Regions from separate parts of the Homo sapiens genome. Here region 1 is linked to region 2. The links are contacts of gene promoters, found by promoter capture Hi-C in blood cells and fetal thymus (Javierre and others, 2016). All regions are on one chromosome and are shown on one strand. The core of a region is centred on a gene start or on the middle of the fragment in contact, and the rest is flanking DNA. Distances in the headings are between cores, read along the strand shown.

Region 1 (6,784 bases), core at 286-2,785, 680 kb after region 2:
TCTCTATAATACTTCTCACATATGCCCTGAGAGGTTGATATTATTATTCCCATTTTGCAGATGAAGAAACAAGGCTCAACAAGATAAACAAAGATAACTAGTTGGTGGCCATTGGATCCCAAACCATGAGTTGTCTGGCTCTTTCTCATGAGTCTACTAGCTCCTTCTAACTTACCACTTTGCCTCTGCTACATTCTGAAGGAGTTTCTAAGCCTCAACTTCTTGGGCCCAAGATAGCTTAAGAATCAAAGTTTTCCAAAGTAGGTCACCAAGTAACAGTCACAGAACTCCTGATGGGAGGTCCCAGGTGTGTCCTTCAGGAGCCTGAACAGATGTTGTTGTCCCAGTAGATTTATTCCATGAACAAAGGCAGTTTGGCTGCATGGCTTAAAAACAAGGGATTTGGACTCAGTTGTTCTGCCTACAAGACTCTGTTCCACTTCATCACCAGCTGGGAGGTCTTGGAAAATCATTTAAACTCCCTAAGCCTCAGTTCCTCAACAGAAAAATTCAGATGAGAATGCCAACCTTCTCAGAGCTATGTGAGGATTAAATGAGATAATGCATGAAAAGTGCTTAATGGAGCATCTGACTTCATGCACATTAAATTAATATTAAATCATAATGTTTATACTCACAACTTATTGTGGACATTTGCTTGTAGGACATGATTTGAAAGTGTCAATTCCCAAGCTTAGTTTTCCCCTCACTATTCTTTCCTTAACCCATCAGCCAATTATTCCTCCTGATTTGAACTTCTCTATTAACAAGTCAACCCAAAAGCTGAGTAACACTTGCCAGTCAATAAAATATAAAAGGAAGCTGAGGTCAATGACATATGTCACAGTCACTTGCAACATTTACATGATGCCCTTTTAGAAAATGTCATTTGTGGCTCTATAAAATATTTTAGGAGTGAAGAGCCCAGGAATTTATAAAATACCTACAGTTTTCTGAGCTTGTCCTGGATTATTTTAGCTTGAACATAATTTATGTCATTTAAAAAAATTATCCAGCAAGGGGAAAAAGAGAAACCATACCAGTTCTGGTGAGGATGTGGAACAGTTGGAACTCCTGTCTGTTGCTGATGGGAATGGAAAATGTGGAGCTGCTGCGGACAACAGCTTGGCAGTTTCCTATACAGTTAAATACATAGTATACAACCCAGAAACCCCATGCCTTGGTATTTATCCAAGTGAAATGAAAAGTTATATTCCATAAAACCTGCACACAAATGTTCATAATTGCCAAACACTGCAAACAAGTCAAATGTTCACCAACAGGTGAATACAACTCCTCATTAAGAAGGAATGGACCAGGCATGGTGGCTCACACCTGTAATCCCAGCACTTTGGGAGGCCGAGGCGAGCTGATCACCTGAGGTCAGGAGATCGAGAGCAGACTGGCCAACATGGCGAAACCCCATCTCTACTAAAAATACAAAAATTAGCCAGTTGTGGCGGTGCACGTGCGTAATCACAGCTACTCAGGAGGCTGAGGCACAAGAATCGCTTGAACCTGGGAGGCAGAGGTTGCAATGAGCTGAAATTGTGCCACTGCACTCCAGCCTGGGTGACAGAGTGAGACTCTGTTTCAAAAAAAAAAAAGGAATGTATTACGGATACACCCAACAACATAGATAAGTGTCAAATGCATCATGCTAACTGAAACAGCCAAATTCAAGGAGCTACATATTCTATGGTTCCATTTGACATTCTAGAAAAGTAAAAACTGTAGGAATCAAAAGGGATAGTGGTTACTTGGGACTGGCAGTGGGGGACAGGTTAACTACAAAAGGAACACATAGGACTTTGGAGTGGGGGAATATATCTTGTTAGTGATCATGGTTCTATGACTATAACAATTTCCAAAAACTTACAATAGTCTATACTGAAAAAGATGAATTTGTACATGTTATTTAAAAAATAGTAACCTGGCAGGATCTAAAAAAAGCAATGCACAACTGAGATTTCAAAATCCAAGAACCTTCACTGATTTTATCAGAAGTAACTGGAAGCCAAAATTAATTGGATTTGTTTTTCTTCATTCAAATTCTTGACCCCCAAAAGAGTGTAAATGATTATATATATACATACACACACACACACACACACACACACACATATATATATATAGAGAGAGAGAGATACATAGATAGAGAGCAATGGAATCAGGGTTGTTAAAAACAACAGGCAACTGGGCTGCTGATTCTAGCTCACGCTACATGACTAGTCAATTAAACTTAGCATTCAGTATGACAGAAACAAGGAAAGCCTTTTAAACATTTTTAAAAACTTAATCATAAGCACTGTTTATTAAAGGTGATAAAGTAGAAGGAAATATACAATAATACATAAGAAATATAAGAATATTTCCAACAAGCTTTAAATCTAATTTGTGAACCTAGAACTTCTTTTCTCATCTACCCATTCCTTTTCTAATAGCTTTCTAGATGCACAATATGTTTTCATTCTTCATATTTGTCCATCTGCACATACACTGTTGGATCGATGATGAAAATATCTACTTATTCAGGGCCTGAAACAGCCAGGACCCTCCCCTCCCCTCCCCTCCCCTCCCTTCCCCTCCCCTCCCCTCGCCTTCCCTTCCCTTCCCTCCTTCCTTTCTTTCTTTCTTTCTTTTTTTTTTTTTGTTTCAGACATAGTCTCACTCTGTCACCCAGGGTGGAGTGCAGTGGCTCAATCTCAGCTCACCGCAACCTCCACATCCCAGGTTCAAGCAATTCTCCTGCCTCAGCCTCCCGAGTAGCTGGGACTACAGGCATGTGTCACCACACTCGGCTAATTTTTGTATTTTTAGTAGAGATGGGGTTTTACCATGTTGCCTATGGCTGGTCTCAAACTCCTGACCTCAGGCGATCCACCCGCCTCAGCTTCCCAAAGTGCTGGGATTACAGGTGTGAGCCACCATGCCGGGCCATGACCCTACTTTTTATCAACACCATCGCCCACCCTCCCACACCATGAAGACGTTTGACTTATCCAAGAGCAGCATCCTACCAAAATCCAGGTGTTTATAGAAAGATAGAAGAGTCAGAGGCAGCTTCCCACTTTGGGTAAAACTAAGTTCCTTGTATCAGATCACAACAATGTAAGTGACCTAATCAAAATAAATAGCAGGTGCTTACAGCTCAATACTAATCAAGCCTTCTTTCTCTTGATAAACCAACATAGCTTGGTGAATGTCTCTGCCCTGATCCTGATCCCTGGAGTATATGAAAGTGAGAATGATGAAGGTGGATTCCTGTAGATGGTAAATACCTCTTAGGAGATACTTGCTATAAAATCGTGAGTATAAGGCTAGAAAAAAAATGCATTTGTTTTAGAATTTTAAAAATCCTTACCAAGGAAACAAAGGTGTATTACCAAACAAGATTGATTACTCCATCCAATCACAAACAGATCATCAAAACAGTAGTAGTATTCTCATCTAGGAGTTTTAGGAAGTTGTTTGACATTTCAAGCAGAAAAAAATGAGTTGCAAATGAAGACATTCAGCTTTGGAAAACTATATTATTTAACCTACATTATCTTCTTTTCAAATTGTAGATGTTAAAAAAAATAGTTTGCATTCTAAATTGCCAATAAAATAGACTTCAAAAGTTGGCCACAGTGGTTCACATCTATAATCCCAGCACTTTGGGAGGCCAAGGTGGAAGGATTGCTTAAGGCTGGGAATTGGAGGCCAGTCTGGGTAACACAGTGATGCCCCATCTATGAAAAAAAAAATTTAATTAGCTAGGCATGGTGCCACATTCCTGTAGTCCCAGCCATACAGGAGGCTGAGTGAGGCAGGAGGATCACTTGAGCCCAGGAGTTTGAGGCTTCAGTGAGCTAGGATCCTGACACTGCACTCCAGCGTCAGTGACAGAATACAACCCCGTCTTGAAAAACACACACACACACAAACAGACCTCAAGTTATTTTGATGCTCTTTTTTTTCCCCCAAAAGGAATTTGCAATTTGAGTAGTAACTTAAGGGCACTCAGAGAGACACTGTCTTCTTTTTAGGCTCACAGAACTGGCTAGATTTTTATAAAAGGATTTCTGTTCTACTAGAGAAATCTTCCTAAGAGGATATTTAAGCATAAGTTGTGAAGCATGACCCGCCCCCACCACTCAAAATGCATTTGCCATAATAGTTAGCACAAAGCAAGGTCAGTGGAGATATATAAGAAAACAATTCTGGCTGGGAACTGCTATTCCAGTTTCCTGATTCCTAACAGAGGTATACCAAAAGTCAATGTTCTTGCAAAGTTAAGAAGTTCTTTTTTGTTTGTTTGTTTGTTTGTTTGTTTGAGGCAGAGTCTCGCTCTGTTGCCCAGGCTGGAGTGCAGTGGTGACATCTCAGCTCACTGCAACCTCCACCTCCCAGGTTCAAGCAATTCTCCTACCTCAGCCTCCCCAGGAGCTGGGATTACAGGCGCATGCCACCACACACAGCTAATTTTTAAAAAATCATTTTTAGTAGAGAAGGGGTTTTACCATGTTGGCCAGGCTGGTCTCCAACTCCTGACCTCAGGTGATCCACCTGCCTCAGCCTCCCAAATTGCTGGGGAAAATTAGAAGTTCAGACGAGTCTTGCTCTGTTGCCCAGGCTGGAGTGCAATGGTGCAATCTTGGCTCACTGCAACCTCTGCCTCCCTGGTTCAAGCGATTCTCCTGCCTCAGCCTCCCGAGTAGCTGGAATTACAGGCGCATGCCACCACGCCCAGGTGATTTTTGTATTTTTAGTAGAGATGGGGTTTCACCATGTTGGTCAGGCTGGTCTCGAATTCCTGACCTCGTGATCTGCCCAGCTCAGCCTCCCAAAATGCTGGGATTATAGGTGTGAGCCACTGTGCCCAGCCAAGGTAAGAAGTTCTTAACATTGGTTTGTTGGAGAGTTACACACAGAAAACACCACTGCTTAATAGGAACCTGGATGTTTAACTCTTGGCATTCATATTTAAAATTATCATAGAAGAGAGTCAAAGCACCAAATAAGAGGTTGGCTCATATCAGTTATTCTCACATTATGCTACCATAGAAGCTGCACCAATGTATCTGTTTTACCATGCAAAAGTATTTGCAGAAAGGTCTACCAAATGGTGAACAAAATGCGGCATAGCCATGGCATGGAATAAATCCTAGTTAAGCAATAAAAAGGAACCAACTACAGCTACATGTGACAACCTGAATAAACCTCAACAGCTATTCTAACTGAAAAAAGCCAGATGCTAAAGACTATATATTGTACGATTCCATCTGTATGAAATGTCCAGAAAAGGCAGATCTAAACAGACAAAATAGATTAGGGGTTGCTGGGGCTGGGGTAAGAACGGTGAGTGATTGCAAACAGGCCCCAGGGATATTTGGGGAATGATGAAGTGATCTAAAATTGGATTGTGCTAATGGTTGCACCATTCAGTAAATTTACCAAAAATCATTGAATTATACACTTGGATGTATTTTATGGTATGTAAATTATACCTCCAATAAAGCTTTTTTAAAAAAAAATACAGAAGGAAAAGTAAGAATAACTTGAATAAAGATGCTGTTTTCCTCTGGGGGTGGGGTGAATGTAACTGTAGTCTTATTTTTCTAATTTATAGGAAAAAATATAATTTAATGGATAGATGTTTTTCAGTTTTAAATTTTTTGTTCATTAATTTTTGTCTCTAGATTATTGTCATCCATACTACAAGTTTAGTTTTTATTTAATTTGCATGAAATTGATACTTAGCTATTTTAAGTTAATATTTCATAACATTAAGCCTGGAACACATGATTCCTAAGTTCTTCCCCAACCTAAACAAAAGAGAAAACCACTGAGCAGAATAACATGCAAGCTCCTCTATCATTTTTAGACTTGACTTTTTAAATCAGTGAAAGGAAATATGTGATTTGAAACTAATCTAGTTTTAGTCACTGTCGAAATTGAATGGATCATTTATGTGGTCTGTAAATCTATGGCCTTGACTTGGGGTGGCCTGGAGGACTCCAATGTAGTAAATTCCAGGAGGATAGAAATGTGTCTGATTTACACAGGGCTGTGTTTGGCCCAGACCCTACTTCCCCTCCCATCTGGTTCTCCCACACAGAACACAGTGTCCTCAATAAATATTGTTTCAATGAATACATGAATAGGCCCACAAATTTACAGATGTACCAAATAGTTTCTAAAACAATGTACACACACACACACACACTCTCTCTCTCTCTCTCTCTCTCTCTCTCTCATTTTCCAAACCTATATAAATGGCTGTTTTTGTGCTTAGTAAATGACATTCATTTAAACGTGTTAGTAAATTCATGGTAAAATTTTGCCATTATGAAATGTTTTCAATCAATAAATAGCCATATAATTTTGATGTAAATATCTCAGTTCTAAAGATGAGAAACTACTATTTTAAAAGACTTTTACATTCCCATCAAAATCTTCAGTTATTTCCCCTTTCAGTCATTATTCCAAGCAAATAAACACCTCATTTTTCAGGTTTGTCTAAATCTAGCTTACATTTTTTAGCTTTGGCCAAAATTTGGATTACAACTCACCTTCAATGTTGAGCATACTGTAAACAAATAAGCTAACAAATAACATGCCTATCAGTAATTCACAAAATAGCAACAGTATTAATTTCAAAAGTCTCTTTCTAGTTAGGACAAGGGATCAATTTATTTTGTAAATAACAAGAGGAAAGAACCTTCTTATGACGTCGGCCTTATGACGTTGGCCTGGGTCCCAAGAAGTGTAGTTGTTTTCATTCTTTCTGCAAACATTT
Region 2 (6,956 bases), core at 1,543-4,042:
CAGCACTTGCTAAATACTTTCTGGGGTCCAGGGCAAAATGAAAATATGGGGCTTCCTTGTTAAAAAATTAAGAATTTCAAGACAAGAGCAGAATATGAAATCAAGTGTTGAGCCCTATGTGACTGCCTACGTCACATACTCATCAAGCCAGCCCTGCTTGCTCCCCTAGGATTTCCAAGGGTCTACTTTTCTATCCTTTCACGAAATTAAAAGCCACTCTTCAAATTAAACAACGGATGGGGAAATAAATGCAACTAACTAAAGAGGGCTTGATTACGTGCATTGTTTTTTAACACTGTCTCACTTAAGCAACATGTTGAATGTTAGTGAGCCTAGGGCTCTTCTAGAGAGACCGTTTTCATCTGCCATAGTATTTTAGTGTTTATATCATTTTCTATCTGGAAGAATGAAAAGAAAAACAAACTTTGGTTGTCTATTAGTAATCAGACCACTGAATGTTGTCCAAGAAGCACTTAGTGGACAAAGAGACACTCAATTCAAAAGCTCTCTATGTAGGCTGGGTCGCGGTGGCTCATGCCTGTAGTCCTAACACTTTGGGAGGCCAAGGCGGGCGGATCACTTGAGGTCAGGAGTTGGAAACCAGCCTGGCCAACATGGTGAAACCCTGTCTCTACTGAAAATACAAAAATTAGCTGGGTATGGTGGCACACGCCTGTAATCACAGCTACTCAGGTGGCTGAGGCAGGAGAATTGTTTGAACCCAGGAGGCAGAGGTTGCAGTGAGCCCAGATCGCACCACTGCACTCCAACCTGGGAGACAGACTGAGACTCTGTCTCAAAATAAATAAATAAATAACTAAATAAAATGAAAAACCACCAAACAACTATCTAGACTTATCAAACAGCTTTCACAAAGATAGCAGCCTAGCTCTCTGAACAGGTAATTTATAACCTAGATAGCAGACTTTGAAAGAACTGGTCCAGACATCTAAGAATTAAATATGCAAAGAGGAAGATTTTGTTTCCAAACCACTGAGACCCAGCTCTGCTTGTTATTCCCTTTTCTTCATGGATGCATCAACATATCCTTTAAAGCAGGGGTCCCCAGTCCCCAGGCCATGGACCAGAACCAGTCCCTGGCCTGTTAAGAACCATGCCGCATAGCAGGAGGTGAGTAGCGGGCCCGGGAGTGCAGCTTCATCTGTATTCACAGCCACTCTCCACTACTGGCATGACTGCCTGAGCACTGCTTCTTGTCAGATCAGCAGCGGCATTAGATTCTCACAGGAGCCTGAACGCTACTGTGAACTCGCATGCGAGGGATCTAGGTTGCATGCTTCTTATGAGAATCTAATGCCTGATGATCTATCACTATCTCCCATCACCCCAGATGGGACAGTCTAGTTGCAGGAAAACACGCTCAGGGCTCCCACTGATTCTACCTCATTATCTATTAAAATGTAATAATAATAGAAATAAAGTGCACAACAAATGTAACGCACTTGGATCATCCCAAAACCATCCCCCTCCCTTCTGTCTGTGGAAAAATTGTCTTCCATGAAACCAGCCCCTGGTGCCAAAAAGGTTGGGAATGGCTGCTTTAAAGGGTTTCTCAAGGTTCTAATATTTTATTTGATAAGAAGTAGAATCATATAAAAAACCAAACATATGTGTTAATTTGGGTATTTATACAGATATAGTGTATATACATACATACAGGCATGGAGGAATTTCCAAATTTCCTCTATTGTAAAACATACACATACACACACCAACACACACATGCACACATGGTATCCTAATAGAAGGCAAGGAGAATAGACATTTACTGAGCACTTCCTATGTGCCACATGTTTTATATACATTAGGATATTACAGTATATGGTAGCTTTTATCCATTCATTCAATCTCAATACTTTTTTTTTTTTTTAAGAGTAGAGCAACTGAGGCTCACAGCAGTTATGTAACCTGCCCAAAGTCACACAGCATGATGGAGGGTCTGGATTGGAGATTTTGTCTGACTACAACACTCATGTATCAAATCCTATTCAGTTTTGATGTTAAAAATTCTGTGGTTGAATTCGTCACAGTGTCTTTAAATAAAACAACAACAAACAAAACACAGCAAACCTTAACATAGTTGCTAATCATATGAGTTTACAAGGCCACCTGTGTCTTTACTATCAGTTACACTCCTTCCCACCCCATCACATTAATCACTCAGGTCTAGGGATTTGCAAGTTTGCTAACAGCCGAATGGAACAAAGACAAAACGCTAAAATTTGTGATGTGGGCCTAACTCCAAAGCCTTCAAGAAAAAAAAAAAAAGGCCAGGCGCAGTGGCTCATGCCTGTGATCTCAACACTTTGGGAGGCCTAGGAGGGTGGATCACCTGAGGACAGGAGTTCGAAACCAGCCTGACCAACATGGTGAAACCTCGTCTCTACTAAATACAAAAAAATTAGCTGGGCGTGATGGCGCATGCCTGTTAATCCCAGCTACTTGGGAGGCTGAGGCAGGAGAATCGCTTGAATCCGGGAGGCAGAGGTTGCAGTGAGCCGGTATTGCGTCACTGTTGCCCACTCCAGCCTGAGCAACAAGAACGAAACTCCGTCTCAAAAAAAAAAAAAATAGCCATTTGTGCTTTCAATCTCTCCGCTTCCGGCCTCCACCCGGCGGGAAAAAACTCCCGCACGTGGGCCTCCACGATTCCTTGGCATGCGTGTCACTCTGGGCAACAGGCTGGTCGGCCACGACTGCGCAGGCGAGAGGCACAGAGCGACTGGAGACTGTAGTCCCCCGGTTTCCCTGGAGACCAGGCGGAAGCGGCCGGAAGTAGCGCTGCGGTTGGCAGCGGCGGGATGGAGAAGCTGGGGGTGGAGCCGGAGGAGGAAGGCGGCGGCGACGACGACGAGGAAGACGCCGAGGCCTGGGCCATGGAACTGGCGGACGTGGGGGCGGCAGCCAGCTCGCAGGGTGCGCCGCAGCCAGAGGAGCCAGCGGCCTCCTTGGGTGTAAATGAGAAGGGTGGGGCAGGCGGACGCTCGGGGCGGCGGCCACTGGGGCGCGACCGTCCCCGCCCCACTCGGCTCCTCTAAGAGAGGGCTGCCTCCCTCTGCCTTGTGTTACGCGGCGGGTACCTCTAGAGGAATGGCTTCACCCAGCAGGAGTAGGGTGGGGCGCGTCCACACTACAAATACGTGTCGAGGGTTTATCTGCGCCGTCCTTTCCTCTGTGAGGGGCGAGGTGGGGCGGGAATCCCTCAGCCAGCCCGACGAAAACTGCAGAGGCTTCTGGGCCTTTTAACTTTGGAGAAGTTGAGGACCTTGTCGCTCATTTGGCAGAAGGTGGGACCCGGATCTCAGTCCTGGCAGGAAGGGATGGCTCAGAACCTAGGCGGAGTCAGGTCCGCTGTGGTCACGTCTCCGGTGACCCACTTCCAGCTCTGGTCTTTACCTTGTACCGCCCACCTCAGGGCCTGGATGTAAAGGCACCGGTTCTCATTTCCTGCTGGTTTTGTTTCATTCATTAATTTAGAGACAAGGTCTCCCTGCAGCCTCGAACCCCTGGGCTCAAGTGATCCTCCGCCCCAGCCTCTCCGTCCCGAGTAGCTGGGACAGCAGGCACGTGCCACCACACCTGGCTGATTTTCAGATTTTTTTAGATCAGGTGTAGCTGTGTTGTCCAGGCTGGTCTCAAACTCCAGCCACAAGCGATCCTTCCACCTCAGCTTCGAAAAGTATTGGGATTACAGTAGTTAGCCATCGTGCCTGGCCTTTTAAATTTTGGAACTTTAGGTTTACCTGAAAGTTGCAGAGCTAGATCCCCCTAGTGTTAACATAAACTCAGTACATTTGTCAAAACTAGGAAATTAACATTGGTATAATACTATTAATTGAACTACACGCTTTATTAATATTCTACCAGTTTTTCTGCTAACGTTCATTTTCTGTTCCAGGATCCCAACCAGAATATTGTATTGTATTTTGCCTGTCTTGTTTTTAGCCAGTGTTGAGAGAAGGAGTCGCCTCTGTCATTCCCTCCCCGACAAATAATGACCTAACAACTTTTTAAAATCAAAGAACTATTCAGTCTTTCAATTTAGTGAATATTTATTGGTGGTCTGTTATGTCCTAGACACTGTTTTAGGCACTGGCGATTTAGCATTAAACCAGATAATCCTGCTGCCATGGGAGCTAAAAATAGCCCACACTTGTACCCACTGGTTGTCTTTTGCCATTTTGTATTTCAGTTTTTGTTGGTTTGTTTGTTTTAAATGTAAGGGCATGCTGCTTAGAATAATTTTCAAGCTGTGTGAAAATCAACGTCATTTCAACTTTTCTGCCCCTTCTGGTTTACACTAAGAGCTACTATAAACTTCCAGGTGATAGTATTAGCTCTTTCATCATCCATTATTTATCACATTTTTTCCCTTCAAACTTATTACTATCCTGAGAAAAACGCAGTGCACAAACAGTAATTAAGAGGACTGAAGACCCTACCCTAAGTGGAGTTTCATGTCTTTGTAATTTTTCGATGCTTTCACACATAATCCAGGAGAAAACACGTCACTCTGCATTCTTCCTTCACAGGTACCATGTTTTAAGGAACTGTCAGTTGCTCAGAGATAATAAGCAGCCTGAATTTCTTTTTATTTCTTTGCATATTGTGCAGGAGTTCATGATCAAGTGTTGCCCACACCAAATGCTTCATCCAGAGTCATAGTACATGTGGATCTGGATTGCTTTTATGCACAAGTAGAAATGATCTCAAATCCAGAGCTAAAAGACAAACCTTTAGGTAACTGTAGATTTATAATATTTTTAATTGCATAATGATTAGATTAGCAACTCATCATGCTCATTATATACTGATTTATTAACCTTATTAAGAAAGATTTTGGAAGCAGTTCTTACAGTGCTTTATAGCTGGTCATTTTTGCTTCACTACCAAGTGTAAATTTTACAAGCCTCATTTAATAAGTGGTGAATCTGAGAATAGTGTAGTCGGCAGAACAAATGAAGAGAAAGCAGAATAAATGTTACTTTTCTGTGCTGGTTAGTAGCTTAGTTTGCTGGTCAGATTTCTTTTTCTCACTATTTGAAATTTTACAGGCTTTGTTCTCAAAAACAGCCTCTTATTACATTTTAGTGGAAGTGTTCGTCTGTCCTCCCCTTTCTGAAATTATCTCTTAAATTGTGTAACATCTAACTAACTAGTTGGATTTTGAACATAAACCTAAGTATTATTAAGACAGCAAACTTGCCGTAAAAACATAAGCATCTTTTTAAATAAAAGCCAAAATAAATTTTATATTGGATATTTGTTGATATGCTAGCTTGTTTTATCATTTTTATTATTCATATTTTAAATTGAGAAAGATAAAGAGATTTTCTTTCATGCATGCAGGAAAGATTCCTCTTTTAGTGTAAGCATAAAGAACATTTTTGGTTCACTTGCTGCTACCCTCTTGTGCCCACTTTGGCTTAATAAATCCCAATCCAGCCTAGCTGATTTACTGAAGAACAAAGGGATGACTAGTTTTTGCTACGCCAAGGTGAGTCTAGGATCTTAAAACTTTTCTAAGGGTGCCAAGGAGTTAGAATCAGGGGACCTAAGTTTTTTCTCCTGAAGGCATTTCTGAGTAGTAGCACTGTGTTATAAGATGTTCTGTAGATAATGCTTAATAAAAAAACTGTAATTAAGTACGAATGAATGATTATTGGGAAGTGAGGGATATGAATGCTCCATGTTTTTGGGGGAAAACGAAAGTAGTCTTTCATTTTGTTTTTGTTGTTGTTGTTGAGAAGGGGTCTCACTCTGTAGCCCAAGCTGCAGTGCAGTGGTGCGATCTTGGCTTACTGCAAGCTTTGCCTCTGGGGCTCAGGTGATTCTCCTGCCTCAGCCTTCCAAGTAGCTGGGACTAGAGGTGTGCGCCACCATACTCGGTTAATTTTTTTGTATTTTTAGTAGAGACGGTTTCACCATGTTGCCCTGGGTGGTCTCGTATGCTTGAATTCAGGCGATCCACCTGCCTTGGCCTCCCAAAGTGCGGGGACTACAGACGTGAGCCACCGTGCCCGACCAGTAGTGACATGCAGTGATGAGGCCATATAATGTAATGCTCTATTAAAGGACTCCTTTTTTTAGTTAAGAAATCTAGCAATCTGATTTTTTATGTAGTTCACTGAGGAATCTCAAATTATTATTACCTTTGGTTCCATGATTATATTTTTGGGCATTACCTGATATATGAAAAAACTTTATATAAAAATAATGTTGTTTATGATATCAAAATTTTAGAAACAATGTCTAATAGAGAAGTGGACATAACCTTTTTTTTCTACATGTTTGTATTTTACATATTTTAGGTGAACATTACTCTTACAGTGGTAAGCAAGTAGTCAACTTGTATAAAAAAAGAGCAAATAATTTTTAGCAATCTTGAGTCACCAATAAACTAGAATTTTTTATGCAGTCTGTAAATAAATGATCATAATTTAATCATTTTTGATAGAACAGTTCAATAAGTAGTACATAACTGTTAGATCCCTAAAAATTGCTGTAGCCCAGCACTTGTTTTATATATTTTATATACATATTATATTTTATATTGCTTTATATTAGCAAGTTACGGAGAAGAGAAGTTGAGTTTTTCTAGCAGCAACCAGTATTTAGTTGTACTCAATTATTTTCATCCGTTTTTTTTTTTTTTGGTAGAACATGCCCTATTATATGGCAGTATAAATTAATCTGCTTTTATATTGTCTGGAAAAAAATCCTAGAGAGATTTGATTTGTATCTTATCACTGAAGATTCCATAGAATATATTGATTTAGGTTCATTTTTAAATTTTAGAAATGTAATACATAGATTGCCTTTTGTATATGAATAATTGATCTATCGTCTAACTTTTAATTCTGTGTTATTCAGTGTTTTGTTATTTAATAATAACTTTCCTTCTTCAAGGAGACAAAACAACTAGAGATTAAAAG

What was found. Contacts are between HindIII fragments. The CHiCAGO score rates a contact against its expected background, and 5 or more counts as called.
Region 1: a contact is called between a fragment that was not itself captured here and the fragment with the promoter of POLI in region 2, in 4 of 17 cell types (M2 macrophages, erythroblasts, monocytes and 1 more). The highest score is 14.5, in M2 macrophages.

The regions. Positions count from the first base shown.
Region 1 is chr18:54,951,418-54,958,201 of GRCh38, forward strand. The region is part of intron 1 of CCDC68 (coiled-coil domain containing 68); the gene reads right to left. It also overlaps the pseudogene MAP1LC3P. Among named protein-coding and RNA genes, the nearest start is that of CCDC68, 4.7 kb to the right of the region's middle. The HindIII fragment of the contact is 1,689 bases long and covers 692-2,380 here.
Region 2 is chr18:54,266,725-54,273,680 of GRCh38, forward strand. POLI (DNA polymerase iota) reads left to right here and starts at 2,793. Exons shown (of 10, transcript NM_007195.3): 1 at 2,793-2,937; 2 at 4,636-4,761. The coding sequence starts at 2,823. It overlaps LOC124904307 (a long non-coding RNA gene), which reads right to left and starts at 3,181. Exons shown (of 2, transcript XR_007066379.1): 1 at 3,102-3,181. RefSeq lists enhancers at 2,155-2,304, 2,565-2,694, 3,225-3,274 and a silencer at 2,905-3,154. The HindIII fragment of the contact is 5,901 bases long and covers 1-5,827 here.